Linked DNA regions of Homo sapiens: all the other regions are linked to region 1. Evidence: promoter capture Hi-C in 16 types of primary human blood cells and fetal thymus (Javierre and others, 2016). All regions are on one chromosome and are shown on one strand. The core of a region is centred on a gene start or on the middle of the fragment in contact, and the rest is flanking DNA. Distances in the headings are between cores, read along the strand shown. Region 1 holds the start of SPRR5 (small proline rich protein 5). Region 2 holds the start of SPRR2G (small proline rich protein 2G). Region 3 overlaps LOC101928009 (a long non-coding RNA gene).

What was found. The method cuts DNA at HindIII sites, captures the fragments that hold promoters and counts their contacts. A CHiCAGO score of 5 or more calls a contact.
Region 2: a contact is called between the fragment with the promoter of SPRR2G here and the fragment with the promoter of SPRR5 in region 1, in 8 of 17 cell types (endothelial precursors, M1 macrophages, naive CD4 T cells and 5 more). The highest score is 7.1, in endothelial precursors.
Region 3: a fragment that was not itself captured here is called in contact with the fragment with the promoter of SPRR5 in region 1 in 2 of 17 cell types (M1 macrophages and M2 macrophages); the score reaches 7.0 in M1 macrophages.

The regions. Positions count from the first base shown.
Region 1 is chr1:152,945,365-152,948,473 of GRCh38, forward strand. SPRR5 (small proline rich protein 5) reads left to right here and starts at 1,842. Exons shown (of 2, transcript NM_001395435.1): 1 at 1,842-1,884. The region is part of intron 1 of LINC01527 (long intergenic non-protein coding RNA 1527); the gene reads right to left. The HindIII fragment of the contact is 11,414 bases long and covers 1-3,109 here.
Region 2 is chr1:153,149,464-153,152,251 of GRCh38, forward strand. It overlaps SPRR2G (small proline rich protein 2G), which reads right to left and starts at 1,427. Exons shown (of 2, transcript NM_001014291.4): 1 at 1,389-1,427; 2 at 119-668. The coding sequence starts at 647. The coding sequence ends at 426. The HindIII fragment of the contact is 711 bases long and covers 1,367-2,077 here.
Region 3 is chr1:153,178,377-153,181,370 of GRCh38, forward strand. All of the region lies in intron 2 of LOC101928009 (a long non-coding RNA gene), which reads left to right. It also overlaps a transcript of SPRR2G not described here. Among named protein-coding and RNA genes, the nearest start is that of LELP1, 24 kb to the right of the region's middle. The HindIII fragment of the contact is 461 bases long and covers 1,321-1,781 here.

The DNA of each region.
Region 1 (3,109 bases), core at 592-3,091:
GGGCTGCTTCTGTCTGAGTGATACCAGCTTGAAGGGATTCTCCTCCTGGGAAGGGCTGGACTCCTCTGGCCCTCCTTAGTTACTAGCCCGTGCACATCTTGTGATCCCAGAGAGTCAGGACCATGGTTTAAGAGAGAGAACATCGGTTTCCACACCTGTGTCTTCTAGTGATGCAGCATGACTCCCCAAGGTCTTGGGATGTTCTAAGGCTTTTATTAAATAGTGGAACCATGGCTAAATTTCATGGCTGAGATTTAAAATGTGCCATCTTCAGGACTAGCTTGCCTATTTCCATTTCTCTCACTCAAAAGTCTTTTTTAATGTATTTTTAGGGGAAAAGTAAAAATTATATATATGTACAGTGTACAATGTGATGTTTTGATATATGAATATATTGTGGGATGACTAAATCAAGCTATTTAATACATGTATTACCTCACATATGTATCATTTTTGTGTGGCGAAAACACTTAAAATCTACTCATTTAGCAATTTTCATGTCACATATTGTTATTAACTATAGTCAACATGACTTCCAGTGGATTCCTTGAACTTATTCCTCCTGTCTCTTTCAACCAAGAGCTTATGACACTGGGTGGCAAGTGCCACTACTTGCCTCCAACTTTTTTCAACTTCCTATTCCATATTTCTAAGAGTGTGTCTTGCCCTAGTATTCAAAGCCCATCTCCATGGAGCACCCAACGACTGTTGACCATGCATTTTGTGCCAAACACTTGCACATACTTTAAATAAGTTGTCCATTTTAATCCTTACAACTGACATGCAGAATGGTGCTGTTACCCTCTTTAGCAGGTGAGAAAATTGAAGTGCAAAAACATCTGGTTCCTAAGGTCACCCAACTGGTAAAAGGCAGAGCCTCAGTCTGAGCACCACTTGGGAATTTTTTAAAGATGAGCTCCATCCTTTGCCAGGTATGGGAAGCATCCAAGTCTGTATCCCGTGCCACCCTTCTTTGTCCTGGAACTTCTAACAGAAGTTAGGAGGAAGAGCCAGGACTGGGGCCCCAGGAGCTCAGAACCCAGAATCCAGTCACTGTGACTCCTCCATGAGCTCACTCTAATGCAATGCTTCTTAGCTTCCCCCACCCCCTCCACCTTATGATAATCATTTCCCTGGGAACCCTGGAGTCATATGGATATGTGATATATGTAGGGAGATTTAGAGATAAGCACTATCTACTGTAACCAACCAGTTTCCCCGAATGGGGCCTAACGATTTTCCCAATAGCAGAACAGACAGAGAGTGGCAGCTGCCATTTCTTGTATAAATAACAATAGGTAAAAAATGAAAGCCTCTTGTCTTGTCTTCCCACCAGTTCAAGCTGAATGTGACTCTGAGCCTAGGTCAAGTCAAAGTCACAACTTTGCTGAGGGTGGTGGGTTTCCAAGAGAGCCATCTGCCCCCTCAGCTGTTTTCTTATGTTACCTGCATAAGCTGCCTGTCCCATCCCCTCCTCTCTGCCAACCAGAACATCCCAGAACACTGCCCTCACACCCCCACACCCAGCATGGTCGGAATGCTTGCTTGGGACCATCCTAGATGCCAGGGATCTAAGTCAAAAGTCATGAGTGGGTTTGGAAATCCAAGGAAGCCAGTCCTCGTAAAATGATGGGGAGATGAGGCAAGGGGAGGGTGAAGGCACTGTCATCTCCAAATCCCGCCATACCAGCCCTGGGGGTGAGTAAAACTTAAAATTTGAGGAAGGACAGGTGGATCCTATTGTGACTAGGGACTAATTAGGACACCCCAATCCTGGGCCACCTCATGGCCTCAGGCAGGGATGAGAGGTATATAAAAGGTAGATAGGCTCAGAGCATCCCAAACCCCTCCACACCTATCTGCTCCAGTCGCTGGTGAACCTTGGTAAGTCTGGAAAGGTAGTACCTCTTATAGCAGCCTTGCCTTGCCTGCATCCCTAACCAACTATGGACTGGGCTGATTCTCTGGGTGGTGGTCAGAAAGGATGGGTCTTTTGGGGTACCTCTTTTTTCCATATCATTTGTGACAAACCTATCTTGGGTCCAGCAAGTTATCCAGCAGAGTAGTGTGGGAGGCTGGGCTGAGCAGGGAGAAGGAGGGGGGTATCTACAAGAGGGTCAGTATCTCAGCGATGCTGCTGGCATGGTGTGGGTGTTGCATCTTGTCAGGTGCTAAGAGGGAATTAGTAGGAGAGGAGAGACCAGTTCTGGGCAGAGCAACTGGAAGGACTGTCCTTTCAAAGAAAAGAGAAGGCAGGAAGGAAAGAGAACAGACTCCCTTGGGACAGCAGAGTTGTGGATGTCCATGGAGCAAAGGGCTGCAGGGACAAGACGATGTGGCACCATGGAAGGCTCTGCTCTGGGAATCAGGAGACCTCTTTTCCCACCATCTATGCCGAGTGGCTTTGAAGCCATTCCTTCCCTCTGAGGTTTGCTTTCCTCAACTGTAATTGAGAGAGGCAAGCTAGATAGTCCATTTCATCTATCTCTAGAGTTTTCTCTTTATAAACTCCTTTAGAGAGTGGTTAAGATGCGCCTTTTAAATTGTTTATGAATTTACTTAACAAATTACAACTCTTATATAGTGTTCATTTTGTGCTACTACTCTGCATGTGTGTGTCGGTACATACATACCTACGTATGCATGCATATTTTAAGTATGTATTTTATATACTCATTTAATTTTTGCACCAACTCTAAGAGAGGTAAGTATGGAAAACCTTAGTTGCTCAAAATCATATAGTTAATAAATGATTTAGCCAGAACTCAGATCCCAGGCAATTTATTCCAGATGCCACAGGTTTTGCTATAATAGGATACAACAGTCTGCTCTTTCATTCTTCCTCTTTTTTTTCCTCTCTCTCCCTTTTCTTTTTTTATGTTTTTCTTTCTTTTCAACCCCTCCTAACATTTCTGTTTTCCCTCCCTTCCTCCTTTCCTATCTTTCCTTCCTTCCATGTTTCTTTGTCTTGAAAAGAGTTGAAATAACTTGTAAACACTTAAAGTTTACACATGCGCGCGCGCACACACACACACACACTCCTCTTAAATCTGTGAAGGGATCAGGGCAAGGTAAAAGCAGAGCAGGACAGGAATGTGGCAGGGGGTTC
Region 2 (2,788 bases), core at 177-2,676, 200 kb after region 1:
TGAATTCAGTGATGGAAAAGCCTAATAATTCTAATAATTCAATAGGAATGAAAAGGAACATTCACTTGGTGTAGTTAACAGAAGAGGTTAAAGACACGAAATGCAAACAAAAGCAATGTGGGCTTGACCATGAAACATGTGCTTTATTGGGGAGAAGCAAAAGAATAAACACACTTGCTCTCAGGATAGGAACCACCATCTACATCACAGACAGCAAAGCGAGATTAGGCAGTGATCTGGCTGCTCATCTTCCAACAACATATCGGTTTTCAGAACTAAGCCTTTTCTCTGTCAACGCTCAAGCCAGACAGAGGTTAGGGAAGATGCAGCCTCCCACTACAGCTGAAGGGAAGATGATGGAGTCCTGGGAGTAAGAAGAGCCACTGGATCTTGTTGTTTCATGGTCCTGATGAATTCTAGTGATGTTACTTGCTCTTGGGTGGATACTTCTGCTGGCAGGGTGGGTATGGTTGCACAGGAGGGCATTTATCCTGGCATGGTGGAGGTGGGCAATGCTCAGGTGGACAAGGAGGAGGCAGGTAAGGCTCAGGGCACTTCGGGGGTGGACATGGCTCTGGGCACTTTGGCGTGGGGCACACAGGAGGTGGCTGGCAGGGCTGCTTGCACTGCTGCTGCTGGTAAGACATCTCTCCTCAGTCTCAGAGAATCTGAAAGATACATACGAAACAGTGCTCATAAGAGAGACAGTCCTGTTGGTGGAGCAATTAGCTAGGACATCAAATCTCCAGTATCTAGGGACCAACTTTGATCCCTAATACAGTCTTTATGACTTTGTGAACCTTCTTCACACTTCACTTTTAGGACCTCTTACCCTCAGTTCTTCCGTCTTTCTGGCTGTTCTCTCATTCTACCATTTTCTGAAAATAAAATTGCCTATGAGACAGCAACAAATGTTGTCTGAATACAAACACTATCTGAAGAAGAAAAACTCAGATATTAAAAGTCTAGCCAATACCAAACAAATCTGTGCTCTTATCTTCCATGAGGCCCTAGTTACCAGTTTTAATGAGCTGGCTGTGGTGCTGAGCCATGAGTTTTTTAAGAGAATTGCAAAAACTTGCACCCATCACCCAAGGAGATTGCACTCCAAGAGAGATGTATTTGGAACAGATGTGAAGCAGGAGACAGAACAGCATCTTGTGTCTCTCACTCTCCTTCAGTTTAAGATTTTATATATTTGACTCCAGGTTCCTCATCACCTTCATGTTTATCTACCAAATACCAGCTAAAATTTACCTTCAAGACCTCATTATCTTCTTTTTCCTATCCATGAGGATAAATTGGTTAAAATAAACAGGCATTTCTGTACCCAGGTTAGACCCTAACACCATCCAAGTGCAAGAAAAGCTTCTAATATTTGTACTCACCAGAGTCTTCAAAGATCTACAACTGAATGGCAAGAAGATAGCATCAGTGTGGTGGAGAGTCCTTTTATAAGGGGCAGGCAGCCCTACACAGGGAACAGCCCAGGACTAGCATGATGTGCTTATTTCCCAACCAAAATACCACTTGCATGTAATCCATGCTGGTATCACAAAATTCCTAGTCCATGATCCTCCCCAGCAGGATAAGTGCACAGTGATTCACTTGGGACATTATCTCAGGTTCCTCATGCCAGTGGCAATTGTAGAACGTGACAAATTGTCTGACAATTGTGGTGCTTCCCTATAATTAGAGATGGTGCTTCTCCTACTTCCCAGCTTCCAAAGTATCCTGTATGTAAAACTACTCCCATTCAGTTGCACATGCCCAGTATCTAGCTGTGTTCTCTTTAGTAGAGACCAGTATGTGCTGATCCTGCAGCCTGGCTATATCCTAACCCTCAACTGCAGTTTTTCTTTACAACTAACTTCCCCTTTTATCATGGCCTATTGATCCTTAGGCTTTTCTTGACAATTAATTGACTTGAACAGGGTGACAAAATCATATATCAGCTTCCTAGATGCTGACAGCCCCAACCTGGGTGTGTTCTGACATGGTATTAATGGGCTTGAACAAGGCAACATCATCTCTCAGTTTTCTAGGCCATTAGAGTCATGTTGGGGCCCCTTCTTAAAGCTTCACATTTGCAGATTTACACACTAACCTCATCTCTGTGGCCCTTGTAACTATGAGTGACTTGTGGTCTACTAGAAATCCAAACTCATCTTCTCCCATTTTCTTCCAAACTGCCTTAATGTATGTGCTGCATCCATTTTGAAGCTTTTCTCCTACATGCTAATTCAATTTACTCCTTCACAATTTCTCTCTTTTGAAATGACATTTAGTAGGATTTCAGGCTTTCTTTGCACATTCGAGGAGTGAAGTTCTGTAAAGCTATTTATCCTGCTGTTTACTTCATGGATGTTTTTACCTAAATAAGTAAAGTATAGCTGGCACAGATCCCACGGATAATTTCTTAGTATAGCTTATTTAACCATATTAACACTTCAGCTAGTATTACTCACTGTCCCAACTTGGAAAAAACTTGAGTACCTTGGTTATGCATACATCTACAGCCACCACTACTGTGTGGAACTAAATATTTCCTAACCTCCTTGAAACACAGTTTACACAGCTGTAAAACAGAAATAAAAAATACACCTACCACAAAAGTCTCCTACAAAAACTCAAAGAGTGGCCTAAAATTATGCACATTACATAGTGGGTCTTCTAAGAAATATAAACTCTAAAATGTAGAAGAAATAAGAATAATAACTAATCATAACTAACCAATAATTTCAAACATGTCAAAAACAGATAATAAAGAATGGCATTGTTTAGAGTG
Region 3 (2,994 bases), core at 301-2,800, 230 kb after region 1:
ATTGGGATATACTTGCCTTGTTTCTGATATTAGGGGAAAAATATTTCACAATTAATATAATGTTAGCCAAGGCTTTTCATAGATGACCTTCATCGCATAGAGAAAATTTCTTTCTATTCCTAGTTTGCAAGAGTTTTATCCTCAATGCATGTTGAATTTTGTCAAATGCTTTCTCTACATCTATTCAGATGATATAATTTCTTCCTTTATTCAGTTAATTTGGTGAATTACATTTATAATATTAAATAAACCTTGCATTCTGTGACAAATCCTCTTAATATATTGCTAGACTCAATTTACTGATATTTTCTTAAGGATTTTTGCTTCTATGCTCCTGAGGAATAACGATCTGTAACTTTCTTTTCATTTAATGTCCTTGTCAAGTTTCAATATCAGGGCTACGTTAACCTGAAAAAGACTTGGTGAATATTCCCTCTTTCTCTGTTTTATGAAAGAAATTATGTATGATTGAAATTTTTATTTCTTAAGTGTGTGGTATAATTCACCAGTTAATCCTTTTGGACCTGGGGCATTCTATATGGGAAGGTTTTAAACTATGGGTTTTATTTCTGTAATAATTTTAGAGATTGTCTCAGTCAGGGTACAATGAGAGGAACAGAACCAGTTGGAAATGTACTTCAGAGATTTACTACAAGGACTCAATTTATGTGATTGCAAAGGCAGCTAGGCAAGTCTAAAATCCAGAAGTCAGGACATCAAGAGGGTAAGCTGGAACTCTGTCATAGGCTGAAGCTGTAATCCACACATATAATTTCTTCAGGGAAGATTTAGCTTGGCTTTTAAAGCCTTTCAACTGATTGAATCAGACCAGCCTGTATAAACTAGGATTTTCTCCCTTACTTAGAGTCAATTCATAATGGACTTTAATCACATCTACCTTCACAGCAACACCTAGATTAGTATTTGATTGAGTAACTAGGGACTGTCATGCAGCCAAGCTGACACGTCAAAAGACCATCACAGGGCTGTCAAGTTTTCATTTATGTGTTAGTTTTTTATTTTCAAGGAATTTGTGCTTTTCATCTAAGTTGTAGAATTCAATATGAAGTTGTTTATAATATCCACTCATTTTAAATATAACAATGTCACGCCTATCATTTGTGAAATGGTTTCATTTTTAAATATACAATATCATCGTGTGTGTGAAGGTACTCATGCCACAAACTAAATAAGGATAATAATGTTTGAAATAATGATAGTAGTCATAATAATAATTTTTAAGACCTAGGATTCATCTCTTATTCCTCTTTTCCTCACCTCCCACATACTACTTCTTCCTAGATCCCAAGTTCTGCCTTAAGCTTATTATCACTTCTCATCTTCTCATTATCTTCAATGTTCTTACCCTAATTAGAGCCACCATCACCCTCACCTGAACCACTGCAGAAGTTTCCTATCTTGTGTCCTGATTTCTATCTTGTCTCCGTATTCCTATCTTGTGCCACAGCAATCCCATATCAGAACAACCACAGCAATCATATAAAATATAGAGAAGATTATGTCCTCCCTAATTGAAATGATCAAATATCTTGCCATTGTATCTAGAGAAAAGTCTGAAGACCTTACTGTCCTACAAAGCACTTCATGCTGTGGCACTGACTCTTATGCTGACTTCATCATATCTTTCTTTCCTTGTTCACTAAGTTGCAGGAATATTGGCATTCTGGTGGCTTCCTTCCCTTTAAAGTAACCTTTTAACTGACTAAAATTGAAGTATAAATTAATAAAAGCTCACCAAGTACAGGTATACAACTTAATAAAGCTTCATAAGCTAAACAACCATGCAACCAATGCACAAATGAAGAAATAACATGTTACCAGCATCTCAGAAGCAGTCCACCTGGGAAGCAGGTTCTCAAAAGCAGTCCGAGTCACTACCAGCCCCCAAACATTAACTTTTTCCTGGCATCTAACACTGTACATTTGTTCTTCATGTTCTGAACTGTATATAAAGGGAATCATACAGTATGAACTCTTTGGTGCCTGGATTTTTTTTCCCCAAAATTGTGTTTGTGATACTGATTCATTTTCTGGTTTGTAGATATAGATCGTTGATTCTCATTGCTGTATGGTATTTCTCTATGAGAATATACTACCATTTATGCATCCATTTTATTGCTAAAAGGTATTTTAGTAGTTTCCAATTTGGAATTTTTAAAAATAGTGCTAATGTGAATATTTACGTATTTGTCCTTTTGTGACTATATGTACACACTTCTGTTAGGTACATACCTAGGAAAATATAATGACTGGGTCAGAGGATAGGGATATGCTCAGCTCTAGTGAATACTGTTAACTTTTCCAAATTCTTTCTACCATCTATTATTCCCATCAGCAGTGTGTGAAAGTTTCAATTGCTCCACACTCTGTCTAAACTTGGTATTGTCTATCTTTTTTCGTGTTAGCCATTTCGGTGGCTATGTGGAGATAACACGTTGTGACTTGAATTTGCATTTCTCTTATGAATGGTGAGATTAAACTCTTTATTATATGTTTATTGGAAATACAGAAATGCCCTTTCATGAATTGCCTGTTCAGGTTGTTCAGATATTTTTCTATTTGCTCATTTCTTGTTTTTTTGTTGATCTGTGAGTAGGAACACATGTGTATATATGTTCTGGGAACAAGCCCTTTGTTAAATATAGATATTACATACAGCTTCTCCATCTCTGTGGCTTGGCATTTTGCAATCTTGGTGGTGTTTTTGATAATCAGAAATTTTTAATTTTAATGAAATCCAATTTGTCATTTTTCCACCTTATTGGTATGCTTTTTATTACCTGATTAAGGAATCTTTCCTATTGACAAGATCTGAAGACATTCTCCCAGAGTTTAGAATTTTGTTTGTTTGTTTTTGGTTGTGTAATATATTTTTATTTTCTATGGGTACATAATATACATATTTATGGGGTACATGTGACATTTTGCTACACACATAGAATGTATAATGATCAAGTCACAGTATTTAGAATA